2 separate regions of the Homo sapiens genome follow, and region 2 is linked to region 1. The links are contacts of gene promoters, found by promoter capture Hi-C in blood cells and fetal thymus (Javierre and others, 2016). All regions are on one chromosome and are shown on one strand. Each heading gives the region's core, a stretch centred on a gene start or on the middle of the fragment in contact. The rest is flanking DNA. Distances are from core to core; before and after follow the strand shown. Region 1 holds the start of CTRB2 (chymotrypsinogen B2). Region 2 overlaps LOC105371348 (a long non-coding RNA gene).

Region 1 (6,370 bases), core at 2,798-5,297:
GGAGAATTTTCTCCAACAAAATTTTCACTGCATTAAAGGAAAGACTAAAAGTTTCCAGAGAGAGAGAGACCGCCAATCCGGACACATCCTGGGAAAGGAACCGGCCCCCTCCATGGCCTGGCCGAAGTGATGGAAGCTGAGCGTGAGGAAGCCTCAAGATCTAACTGCAGAGGCCGAGCGCGGTGGCTCATGCCTATGATCCCAGCACTTTCGGAGGCCGAGGCAGGCAGATCACCTGAGGTCAGGAATTTGAGACCAGTCTGAACAACATAGTGAAACCCCATCTCTACTGAAAATACAACAATTAGCCGGGCGTGGTAGTGAGTGCCTATAATCCCAGTTACTTGAGAGGCTGAGGCAGAAGAATGGCTTGAACCCAGGAGGCAGAGGTTGCCGTGAGCCAAGATGTCACTGCACTCCAGCCTAGGCAGCAGAACAAGACTCTGTCTCAAAAAAAAAAAAAAAAAAAAAAAAAAAAGTCTAACTGCAGGGTCACAGAAAATGCAGAGAGGGAGGCGGGGAAGAGTGTGGGAGCTGAGAGGACAGTGGCGCCAGCTCCCAGCAGTGGATGCAGAAGGTGTGAGGGGCTGGGGTCTGACGGGGGAGGGGGTGATGCTTGCATGCACATTCCTGAGCACTGGACATGGGGGACTAAAGGCAGAGAAAGGCACCTGGAGTGTGTGGGTCAGCAGTGGTCCCAGTGACAACTCCAGGGGGCTATGGATTGCAGAGCCTGGCCAAGGACTGCTGCCTTCCAGAAAGCCCCACGGGTCAAGCTAGCTTCAGCAGGTAGGGCCTAAATTCTAAACCCAGGGTGGAGCCGTGAGCAGGCAAGAGATATGAAGACCTCAGCTTCCTGAGAAGGCTGGGTTGCCAACATTAACTGCAGCCTGGAAAGGGAACGGTAGTGCTGCCCCTTTGTGGGTGACAAGGACAACTTCAAGCCCACCTCCCCTGGGCCACACAGACACAGGCAGTGCAGTCAGGGCTTCTAAACAGATGCATTTAATGGGAAATCTTAAGGCAGGGGTGGCAGGAGCTGCGGGCTCAGTTGGCGGCCAGGATCTTCTGCACCCAGGGTATGAGCTTGGCGACACGGGCGTACACAGCGGGCGTGGTGGTAGAGCAGGTGCGGCTGCCCCAGGACACAATGCCCACCAGGGTCCAGGCTCCGTCCTTCTGGCAGACCAGGGGGCCTCCAGAGTCACCCTGCAGGAAGGAGAGGAAGTATCTCTAGGCCTGAAAGGGGTGCCAGGGCCTAGGGGACCCTGACCTGGTGGAGTCTAGGGAGGGGTGCGGAGAAATGGTAAGCATGGGCATAGGGGCTGTGCCGGGGTCCTGAGATCTGGGTTCACATGGCAGCCCCCACTCTGCCATGCACTCTTGGAGGGAGCTGGGGCAGGTGGCTTCCCTCTCTAAGCCGGGGCACCATCCATCTCTCCAAACCTCCAGCTCACAGGGCTGCAAGGAAGTCCCCAGGGGCAGCCTCAGCTGCATGGCCTGGAGGAACCCTCATGGGCGGCTGTGACCCCAAGGCCTGGCCCTCACTGGGCCCCAGGAGGGTGTGGGGTTAGTAGATGAGAGCAGAGAGGGGTGGAAAGCCCAGACCTCCCCTGCACCCCGCTCGCCTGGCCAGGGCCTGGGCAGGGCCAGCCTCACCATGCAGGAGGAGACGCCACTGGCCCCGGCACAGATCATCACGTCGGTGATCCTCCTGCCCCAGGACTTCTTGCATTCGGCATTGGACAGGAGGGGCAGGGCTGCCTGCTGCAGCTTGTCAGGGGTCTTGTTGGCTGCAGGACAGGAGGAGGGTCAGGGCCCCTGGGCTCACTCAGCCAAGAGTGGAGGGAGAGACCCGGGGCCGACACGCCTGCCCTACCCTGCACCATCACCACGATGTTGGGTACGGCCCCTGGAGCCTCAGAAGCGCCTGTGGGACAAGGGGGCCTCGGCCCTGCCCGGGTGGGAGCCCCACGCTGCGACTCCAGGCAGGTCAGCCAGGGCAGGGCTCACCCGGCCGGGCGCTGCTCAGAAGCTCCCTGTGCAGGCTCCTCATGATCCGACCTGGATTTTATTTGCATTTGGGGGATTTTAAATTCAGAAGATTTTCAATAACGAACGGGCAGTTAGGAGCGTGTTGGAATTTAGAGCCAAACGGTCACGGGGGGACTCCACGGCCAGGCAGCCCAGACCCCAGAGGCAGCCCCGCGGCCCCTCACCGTTGTACTTGGTCTTGCCCCAGCCTGTGGTGGCACACAGTGTCCCCGCGGGGAAGTCGTCGTCGGCGCTGGGCAGGCACACGGCGGACACTGTCTGGGAGAAGCGGGCAGGTGTGGCCAGCTTCAGCAGGGTGATGTCATTGTTCACGGTCAGAATGCTGAACTTGGGGTTCTTGAAGACCTGGGGGTGGGGGCCAGAGTGCCGGGGTGAGGCCCTGGGAGGAGGCAGGACCTGCAGGCTTCGAGGACAGACTCCTTCCCTGGTGCCCGTTAAGGAGCAGTCCATCCCCAGGGCCGGAATGGGAATCACGAGGCCGGCCCGGCCCCACTGGGCGCCTGTCCCTGAAGCAGCCGAGGGGTCTCCCCCCGTGCCCACGGCCCTGCCCTCTGCTGCACGGGGCCTGGGTACCTTGGCGATCTTCAGGACCTGGATGTTCTCCTCGTCAGAGCCCTGGTCAAACTCCCCAGCCACGACCACGTCGGAGGTCCTGGGCAGAGCGTTGTGGGTGAGAGAACATGCCCTGCTCCCCTCCCACCCGACCGGTGCTGGAAGCGGAGCCCAAGGCTGCCCGGTCCTCACCTGACCCCGCAGTGGGCAGCGGTGACCACCCAGTCCTCGCTGATGAGGGAGCCCCCGCAGAAGTGGAAGCCGGTTTTGTCCTGTGAGCAAGATGGGGAGGGTCAGCACCTCCCACCCGGGGGCACCCCCAGCCTGGCCCCTACCCAGGGTGCCCCCCACCTTGCAGAACCCCCTCACCTGCAGGGACACCTGCCAGGGCCAGGAGCCGGGGACGGCGTCCTCCCCATTCACGATCCTGGACAGGCCGCTGAGCACAGGGTGGATGGCGGGGACCCCGCAGCCTGGGGGCGGGAGTGGGCTGAGGGGTGGGTACCACCCACCCAGGTCCTAATGCTCCAGCCTCCTCTCACTCCCAACTCTTTTCCAGTCTCTGGGACCTAGACTGGCTCCCACATCCCCTTCTCTGAGAAGTTGGCCCTGGCTCTCCTCTCCGCAGAGCTGGAATCCCCAGGTACAACTGAGTCCAATGAACTGGGCTGTGGGCTGCTGAGGAATGGGGTGTTGGCCCCACCTCAGTTCGGAGAAGTCACACAGGTGGAGCGTGCGGTGGGCGGCAGCCCCGGCGCTCAGTCTGGGAGGCCAGACTCTGTGGGTTTGAACCTGGCTCCCTCCCTGCCCAGCTAAGCCACTCAGTGTCCCCATCAGCAAAGTGGGGATCACGCTGTTTCTGACCTCACAGGTTTGGTAGAGTGAGCAGGCAGAGCGCCAGCTCTGCGCCTGGCACCCGGGAAGTGCTCCGTGAGCAGGAGTTTAAGAGGGTGAGGCTCGAGGTTCTGAAAGGTTTGGACTGAACGGTGCCAAGCCCCAGCTGCCCACACATTCACCACCCAAACCTGTGCTGGGGCCGCTGACTGTTTGGGGGTTTCCCGAAGGCCTCAGGGCAGCCCCCGGACACCTGCCTCCTCCCCCCGCCTCCTCCCCTGAGAGCCTCAGGTCTGCTGGGGGTGAGGAAGGGGAGCGGGACTCCCCATCTCCTGAGCTCAGAGGCGGCAGCTGAGCCTGGGAGGGAGGCATTGACCTCTCAGCGCCCACGGCAGAGATGGAGCCGGTGACTCGCCCAGGCCCACACTGCGGTGCACAGCTGAACTGGGAGCTGGGACCCTGCTGCCTCTTGCTGGCCTCGGGGCTGGGAGTGAGAGGAGAAAACCCTTCGGCCTCCGCAGGGCCTGGCACTCACCGAAGGTGGTACCCAGGAGGGCCCAGCAGGAGAGGAGCCAGAGGAAAGCCATGGTGCCGCTGGCAGGGGTGTAGGACGCCTGTCTGCCGGTCCCCGTTATAGCCCTGTGTGCCTGCTGTTATCTGGAGACCTTGGGGCGATAATCCCTTCCCTGGGAGTGGGCAAGATGTGTCGGTGCAGGGCTGGCCAGGAAGCCTGGGATGGCAGCAGCTGTGGCCTTAGCTGAGCCGGGCTAACCCAGGTGGCCTTCGACCATTGCCTTTCTCCTCCAGGCCCAGGCTTGGGCAGGGGCCTCCAGGGGCTGAGTCCAGCATCCCCGGGTTTGAGCCCCAGCTGAGTCTCTTGTGCTCTGCAAAGAATTCACTTGATCTTTTCATGGTTTGAAAACCCCTGGGCAGGCCGGGCATGGTGGCTCACGCCTGTAATCCCAGCACTTTGGGAGGCTGAGGCGGATGGATCACGAGGTCAAGAGATCAAGACCATCCTGGCCAACATGGTGAAACTCCGTCTCTACTAAAAATACAAAAAATTAGCCAGGCGTGGTGGCGCACACCTGTATTCCCAGCTACTTGGGAGGCTGAGGCAGGAGAATGGTGTGAACCCGGGAGGCGGAGGTTGCAGTGAGACGAGATTGCGCCACTACACTCCAGCCTTGTGACAGTGAGACTGTCTCAAAAAAGGAAAAAAAACAAAAAAAAAGAAAAAAACCCAATGGGCAATGTGACCAAGTAGAGGAGAGGCTGGGGGAGCAGGCCTGTGCCCCATGGTGTAGCCAGAGGCTGGGGTGCGGGTGCTCGCCGGGTCCCAGGGGATGGCTAAGAAGGCTCAGTGAAGGCCCAGTCGACATCTGTGTTGGTCACTTGGGCTGTGTACAGGGGAGGGGTAGCTACCTGCTGTCCTCACACTGGGCCACCCCTGCACACAGGCGCCAGCACACCTGGGCCCTGGAGCTGAGCAGGTGGCATCAGAGGGCAAGACTGGGCCTAGGGCCCGGCCTGGGGGCCTGGCATCGCCCTGATGAGAACTGATGGAGGCTGAGCCTCAGGGCAGAGCATGGGCGGGGACACCTGGTTCCTCGTGCGGGTGGCAGCATGGGTGGTGGAGCCCTTTCTCAGCAACTGGGAAACGGGGGAGGGAGAAATTTTGGATTGAGGCTGCCAGATGGAGGGCAAGTTCCCCAAAATGCACAGGAAAAGGTGCCTCGTGGCTGTTTTCAATTCCACCACACTGATGCCTGCAGCATGTGTGTTTACAGCACGGGTTGTGGGGTCAGGCAGCTGTGGAGCCGTGGGCAAATGACTTGCCCTCTCTGATCCTGTATGTAATTGAGGATGCTTAGAGTATGGGTCCCATGACAAAAGGAAGAGCCTTCTTGAGCACCAGGACCAGGCCAAGCATGCAATCCACGCTGGCGGGGCCCCTACATTCCTCTTTCTTGAGTGAATCACCTGTTCAGGCCCTTCGCTCATTCTAGAAGATTGTCTGAGGACAGAGGGGTTGGCGGGCACCAGCAGGACGGAGCATGGCCTGGTCGGGATGAGACGCACCCACCTCTGCATGCACATGGGCTCTTCCTGCCAGCCAGTGCCCACCAGGCCCACGGGAACAGCTGAACAAAACCAACAAATTCCTGCGTGTGGCAGCTGACAGCCGGGAGGAGGCTGGAGAGTTTAGGGAAGAGAGTCAATTTTTAAAATAAGTAAAATACACACACCAGCAGCTAAAGAGTTCTTCTTCTCATTATTATTACTGATACTGAGGCCAGGAGGGCCTCACTCTGAAGGGGAGATTTAAGCAAACAGCCTAGGAGTTTGTGGGAGCAGTCCAGAGCACCCTCGGAGGAGAGGAAACGAACCTGGGGTCGCAGGACCCAAAGAGGTCTGCGTCCCTAGGGCAGCGAAGAGCTCAGAAGTCGAGGGGGCGGGCCCAGGAGGGCCCTAAGGAGACGGTACTAGAGCCTCAGGGGCAGCCCCTAGCTATAAGCTGGCTGGGGCAGATGGGGGAAAGGGCGCAAGCCCTCACCTGGCCTGAGTGACCTGTGGCCCCAGCTGTGTGGCCTTAGGAGCTAACCGCTGGCCAGGACGTCACCCGCCATGTCCCCAACCCCGCAAAGGCTACAGAGGCTTGTGGGAACCGTGCAGCTGCAGCAGTGGTCGGGGACAGGCACGCACAGGTGTTCCCACTCCACTGCTCCTGGGGAAGGGACCCCTCCCCCACACTGCCCTCCAGTCCCCATGGGATCTGGACCCGAACGGCGAGGAAGGAGCCCGGGGACACTCAGGACAGATGAGTCAGGACACACGCGTGAGCCGGGGCCCTGGTGGATCGGGGAGGCAGAACCGTGGCCTTGGCCAGAGTGGGAGCGGGAGGGATGAGCTGGGGGTCCCCACGTGC
Region 2 (6,370 bases), core at 2,040-4,539, 590 kb after region 1:
AAGTAATATTGGTTTAGAATTACCTCAAGGAGACAATTTCATGACTAATTCTACTGCCTAATTGTTAGAGAGGGTAAGATGGCTGAACTAACATGGACCTTCCCGGTGGCTCCGTGAGGACAGTCGGGAAATGACGTGCTCCTTGTGAATGGCTGAGAAAAAGCACCTGTGTGACATCTAATCATCCAGACCGGTGGTTCTCCAAGTGGGGTGGGGACTCCTGCAGGGCCTCACAATCCTTTCAGAGATTCTACAAAGTCAATACTATTTTAATAATAACAGCAAAATATTACCTGTCTTTTTGATTCTCACTCTACTATGAGTGTACAGTGGAGTTTTCCAGAAGCCATGTGGCGTGATATTGCAACTCACTGAATACAGGAGCAGAGAGAGAATCCAGCGGGTTTATATCAGTGTAGTAAAATAATTAAAAAAAAAAAAAGGAAAAGGAAAAGAGAATTCAGTGGATTGAGTTGACTGCAGGTGGGAGCATACTACAAACTAGTGAGTCCTTTTCTTCAACAAGGTTTATTGGGAGTCTTCAGGCAGCCTGTCCTTGGCCTCTAGAAGCCCATGGTCTGGTGGAACAGCCAGACCAGCTGAAACCCTTACGCTGAAGGTATGGAAATGCTACAGGGCTTGTACTGGGAATCTCAACCCAGGCTTAGAGGATGAAGACAGCTGCCTGGAAATGTTGTCATCTCGCCTGAGTTACGACAATGGAGTACCAGTGAGTGGAATAAAGCGGAAGAGAGAGTGTGGGGCAGAGGCCAGAAGACAGTTTGATGGAAGGTGGTAGGAGAAACTACACTGTATTTTTGAGATGGATAAGAGGGAACAGGACAGGACAGGAAGGCGACAGCTGTCCTTAGGTGGAGCCCATCTAGCTGTTGTTAGCGTCGGTCTCAAATACACAATAAGTTGGTCTCAAATATGCAATATGAGAAAAATCCAAGAGCAAAACCAAAACAACACATAAGGAACAAAGGTACGCTGGAACATTTGACCTATGTTATCTGCCCCAGTGATGTCGATGTTGCTGAAAAGACTGGAGTTGGCATTCATCTCTCCGTTTCTTTGCCCACCGGTTAGTCTTCCAGATGATCATGGCCACTTCACTCAAGAAACTGACTTTCCCAAATGTACCCAGAAGTGTGCCATGGTCTGCCTCAGTTTTGCAGTTACCTTTCTTCCAGGAAATTATAAATTACTCTTTATAAAAATCACATTGACAGGCGGGGCACGGTGGCTCACGTCTGTAATCCCAGCACTTTGGGAGGCCAAGGCGGGCAAATCACTTGAGGTCAGGAGTTCGAGACCAGCCTCCACCAATATGGAGAAACCCCATCTCTACTAAAAATACAAAAATTGCTGGGTGTGGTGGCGGGCGCCTGCAATCCCAGCTACTTGGGAGGCTGAGGCAGGAGAATCACTTGAACCTGGGAGGTGGAGGTTGCTGTGAGCTGACATCAAGCCATTGCACTCCAGCCTGGGCAACAAGAGCAAAACTCCATCTCAAAAAAAAACAAAAAAAAAAAGAAAAAAAAAGAAAAAAATCACATTGACTACATAAAAGACATAACACAAATTCAGTGAAGATTTGACAATTACTATCATGTAAAGTTCTAAAATAGATTTCTTTGGAGTCATGATTGTACATAACTTACACCTGGACCCATCTGCAGCTAACCTCCCACTCCCTGCAATTGCATATTGACCTTGTGAATTTGTTGATTGGAAAATTACATCCCTTTCCTTACCTCTGAGTGTGAGTGTGTTAGCAGCAGTTCAGTGGGATATTTCAGGATTCACAGTTCTTTAATTCTGTCTTCCGGACAAACTCCAAATTGTTTTTTATGTCATAGTGAAATATCAGAACTATGGCCAGTCTTTAGCTGACTACATTTTGAAAGCTGAAATAGGATAGAGCTACTGTGTGTGTAAAGGAACGGCCACCAGGTATAATGGGAGACTTTTTAAAAGCAGTCCCCGGTGTAAGCCCGATGTGAGTTGGATGTTTTTATTGGTACACTGATTCCTTAGGTGGCCTTCAAACATCTATTCCTGGACTCTTCCATGTTTTCCTGGTGCTCTCAGCATAGGCGCTCCACTGGTCTTAGAAGCTGCAGGACTGCCTGATGGGCTGGCTGCCTCTGTGCACTTCAGTGAGCCATTGTAAATAAATAGTCCTGCCCCGTCACTTCCATTTTCGTGATTCAACTGTATTGTTTCCACAGCATTTATCAGTGTCTGAAATGATCTTACTCACTTCTGCTGTGTTTATTTTCTGTCTCCCTTCACCAAAATGTAAAGCTGCTTGAGGTCAGGGGTCTTGCCTTTCTTGTTCATCATTGTGTCAACAATGCCCAGATAGGACCTGGCACAAATGGAGGGATCAATACAAAATCATTGACCATGTGCATAAATGAACGTGCATCATAGCACCTGATGGCACACCCATTGTCATCATCATCAATGTCAAGAAGCATTTATTAAGCAGTACCACAGTGTTGCACAACCCCAGGGGGCTCTGTCTGCATAGCACAGGACCAGGCCCTACGGAAAACAGATGGAAGCCAAGAAGGACCTGATCAAATATAAATTTGTCATCAAAGTTGCTCCTGGATAATATGTCAGTGGATTCCCTTATATTTGAAATCATTTTATAATAAGGATCTCTAGGTAGTTCAGTGAATAAACACCTCTGGATTCCCCACAGAGCCACCTTAAACAGAATGCAAACACTGCTCTCCAGTAAACAGCATTAGAGGCAAAGGGCTCACTAGCCTTTCCTTTGGAAGATTTCATAATCACAGCAAGAGACTTTCTGCCCAGAAACAAGTACATATACAAAGTAATTCTTTTATTAAATTGGGATTAAATGCTATCTAAAACTAATTTAGAGAGAGAGTTCCATTTAATTGACTGATTTGGGTAGGATAAAATGGTAATAATTGTTTTACATGGTATTTAAATTTCATTACTTGAGTTTCTTATTGCTTCTTTTCACGTGAGAATTACCTTTGCAAATACGACATAATAGAAAGCTTTTCAAAAAGCTTTTACTTGCATTTTCTCTCGGAGTGTATTGGTGTTGTATTCAGGGATTGGAGGCTCATAAGAGCATAATGAGAAGATGAATGCACCTCAACCTTAGAGGTGTCTCCAGTTACTGACTTTGTTCTTTCCCTCAGGCTGAATGAGGTGAATATAGAACGTCTTGCAGTTGAATAATTTGGCTGCTTTCAGGCAAGAATTTTTGTGATGTTATAAAAATTGAGATCTAAAAGGAAACTTAACCTTCAGTTCATTCTTTTGATGTATTTTGCCTGAAGCATGGTGCTAGGACCTGTTATCTCAAATAGGCAATATAAAAATATCTTTCTAATTCACTCCTACAGTTGAAAGATCCTCATGGATTGAAATTACTGTGATCTATCAAAATTCACTATGTTGTGGAAATAAAATAAAATCACATGTCAGACGAGGAATGATGACAACAATGGACCGGCTTATTATGAAGCTTAAAATGAAAATGCTTTATCGGCAACAGTATTGGATTCTTGAAAGATGGAAAATATGTGTCAAAATCAGAGAAGCCACATTAGTGATATGGCTGGTTTGTCCCATGCTTTTGGAATCGGTAGCAATATTTGGTTTAATTGTATGTCTTTTTAAAAATCAGAAGATAATTCACACCATAAAATTCACCATTTTAAAGTGTACAATTCAGTGGGTTTGGATAGATTCGTAAGGTTGTGCAACCATCATGACTATCAAGTTCTGGAATATTTTCACCCACTCTCAAAAAGAGGAAGCCATGATTGTGCTGTCTGTCTTTAAGGATTTGTTTATTCTGGACTTTTCATTTAAACTGAGTCAAATGGTATGTGTTCCTTTATGTGTGGCTACTTTCACTTCATGTTTTTAAGGTTCATCTATGTTGTAGCATGTATCAGCATTTCGTGTTTCTAAATAACAGAACACTATGCTATTGTCTAAGTGTCCTACATTTTATTTACGTGTTCATAAGTTGATAGACGTTTGTTTTGTTTCCACTTTTTGGCTACTGTGAATGTGTGCAAATTTTTGTGTGAATGAACACATGTTTTCCTTTCTCTTGAGTATATCTAGGAGTGGAAATGCTGAATCGTATGGTAACTCTGTTTACCTTTTTGAATAATAGCCAAACTGTTTCTCACAGCAGCTGTGCAATTTTACCTCTCCACCTGCAATGTATGAGGGGTTCCAGCTTCTCTACATCCTTACAACACTTGTTATTTTCCATTTTCAAAATGATAGTCATTTTAGTAGATATAAATGGGTACCTTATTAAAAAATAAATAAATAAATAAATGGGTACCTTATTGTGGCTTTGATTTTTATTTCTCTAGTGACTAAGGAAGGATGTTGAGCAGTTTCTCAATTGAGTATTTGCTATATCTATCTATCTATCTATCTATCTATCTATCTATCCATCCATCCATCCATCCATCCATCTAATGTCCATTTGAACTCTGTCTCATTTTTTTATTTGGGTTATTTGTCTTTTTTAAATTTTAAATTTTTGTGGGTACATAGGAGGTATAAATATTTGTGGAATATATGAGATATTTTGATACAAGCATTCAATGTGTCATAATCGCATCAGGGAAAATGAGATATCCATTGCCTCAAGCATTTTTCCTTTGTGTTACAAACAATCCAATTATACTTTTTTAGTTATTTAAAAATGTACAATTAAATTCTTTTTTGTCTATAGTCACCCTGTTGTGCTGGCAAACACTAGGTCTTATTCATTCTTTCTATTTTTTGTACCCATTAACCATACCCACTACCCCACCCTGTCCCCCACTACCTTTCCTAGCCTCTGGTAACCATCCTTCTACTCTCTATCTCCATGAGTTCAATTATTTTAATTTTTTTTTTTTTTTGAGACAGAGTCTTGCTCTATCACCCAGGCTGGAGTGCAGTGGCCCCATCTGGGCTCACTGCAAGCTCTGCCTCCCGGGTTCACGCCATTCTCCTACCTCAGCCTCCTGAGTAGCTGGGACTACAGGTGCCCGCCACCGTGCCCGGCTAATTTTTTGTATTTTTAGTAGAGACGGGGTTTCACCGTGTTAGCCAGGATGGTCTCGATCTCCTGACCTCGTGATCCGCCCACCTTGGCCTCCCAAAGTGCTGCGATTACAGGCTTGAGCCACCGCGCCTGGCACAATTGTTTCAATTTTTAAGTCCCACAAATAAGTGAGAACATGTGAAGTTAGTCTTTCTGTGCTTGACTTATTTCGCTTAGCATAATGACCTCCAGTTCCATCCATGTTGTTGCAAACGACAAGATCCTATTATTTTTTGTGGCTGAATAGTACTCCATTGTGTACATGTACCATATTTTCTTTATCCATTTGTCTGTTGATGGACACTTAGGCTGCTTCCAGATCTTGGCTATTGTGAACAGTGTTGGAAAAAACATGGAAGTGCAGATATCTCTTGGATATACTGATTTCCTTTCTTTTGGCTGTGTACTTAGGATGGGATGGTTGAGTCGTATGGTAGTTCTATATTTAGTTTTTTTTGAGAACCTTCAAATTGTTCTCCATAGTGGTTCCATAATTTACATTCCCACCAACAGTGTACGAGGGTTCCCGTTTCTCCTTATCCTCTCTGTTATTTGTTATTGCCTATGTTTTGGACATAAGCTTTTTTAACTGGGGTGATATGATATCTCATTGTATTTTGATTTGCATTTCTCTGATCATTAGTGACGTCGAGCACTTTTTCATAAACCTGTTTGTCATTTGTATATCTTCTTTTGAGAAATGTGTATTCAGATCTGTTGCCCATTTTAAAATGGGGTTATTCAATTTTTTCCTATAGGATTGTTTGAATTCCTTATATATTCTGTTTATTAATCCCTTGTCAGAGGAGGTAGTTTGCAAATATTTTCTCCCATTCTGTGGGTTGTCTCTTCACTTTGTTGCTTGTTTCTTTTGCTGTGTAGAGGCTTTTTAACTTGATGTGATCCTATGTGTCCATTTTTGCTTTGGTTGCCTGTGCTTTTGGGATATTAACCAATAAATCTTTGCCCAGTCCAATGTTCTGGAGGGTTTCCCTAATATTTCCTTTTAGTTGTTTCATAGTTCAAGGTCTGAGGTTTAAGTCTTTAATCCATTTGGATTTGATTTTTGTATAAGATGAGAGGTAGGTGTCTAGTTTCATTTTTTTCTATGGATATCCAGCTTTCCCAGCACCATTTATGGAAGAGACTATTGTTTCCCCAATGTATTTTCTTAGCACCTTTGTCAAAAATGAGTTCACTGTAGATGTATGGATTTATTTCTGGGTTCTCTATTTTGCTTCACTGGTCTAT

Evidence for each region. The method cuts DNA at HindIII sites, captures the fragments that hold promoters and counts their contacts. A CHiCAGO score of 5 or more calls a contact.
Region 2: a contact is called between a fragment that was not itself captured here and the fragment with the promoter of CTRB2 in region 1, in 1 of 17 cell types (naive B cells). The highest score is 5.2, in naive B cells.

What each region holds. Positions count from the first base shown.
Region 1 is chr16:75,203,114-75,209,483 of GRCh38, forward strand. CTRB2 (chymotrypsinogen B2) reads right to left here and starts at 4,048. Exons shown (of 7, transcript NM_001025200.4): 1 at 3,977-4,048; 2 at 2,977-3,080; 3 at 2,800-2,879; 4 at 2,629-2,707; 5 at 2,220-2,400; 6 at 1,660-1,793; 7 at 990-1,209. The coding sequence starts at 4,028. The coding sequence ends at 1,048. RefSeq lists a silencer at 3,638-3,857 and enhancers at 5,530-6,085, 6,086-6,370. The HindIII fragment of the contact is 10,617 bases long and covers 1-6,370 here.
Region 2 is chr16:75,790,783-75,797,152 of GRCh38, forward strand. The region is part of intron 2 of LOC105371348 (a long non-coding RNA gene); the gene reads left to right. Among named protein-coding and RNA genes, the nearest start is that of CPHXL, 67 kb to the left of the region's middle. The HindIII fragment of the contact is 464 bases long and covers 3,058-3,521 here.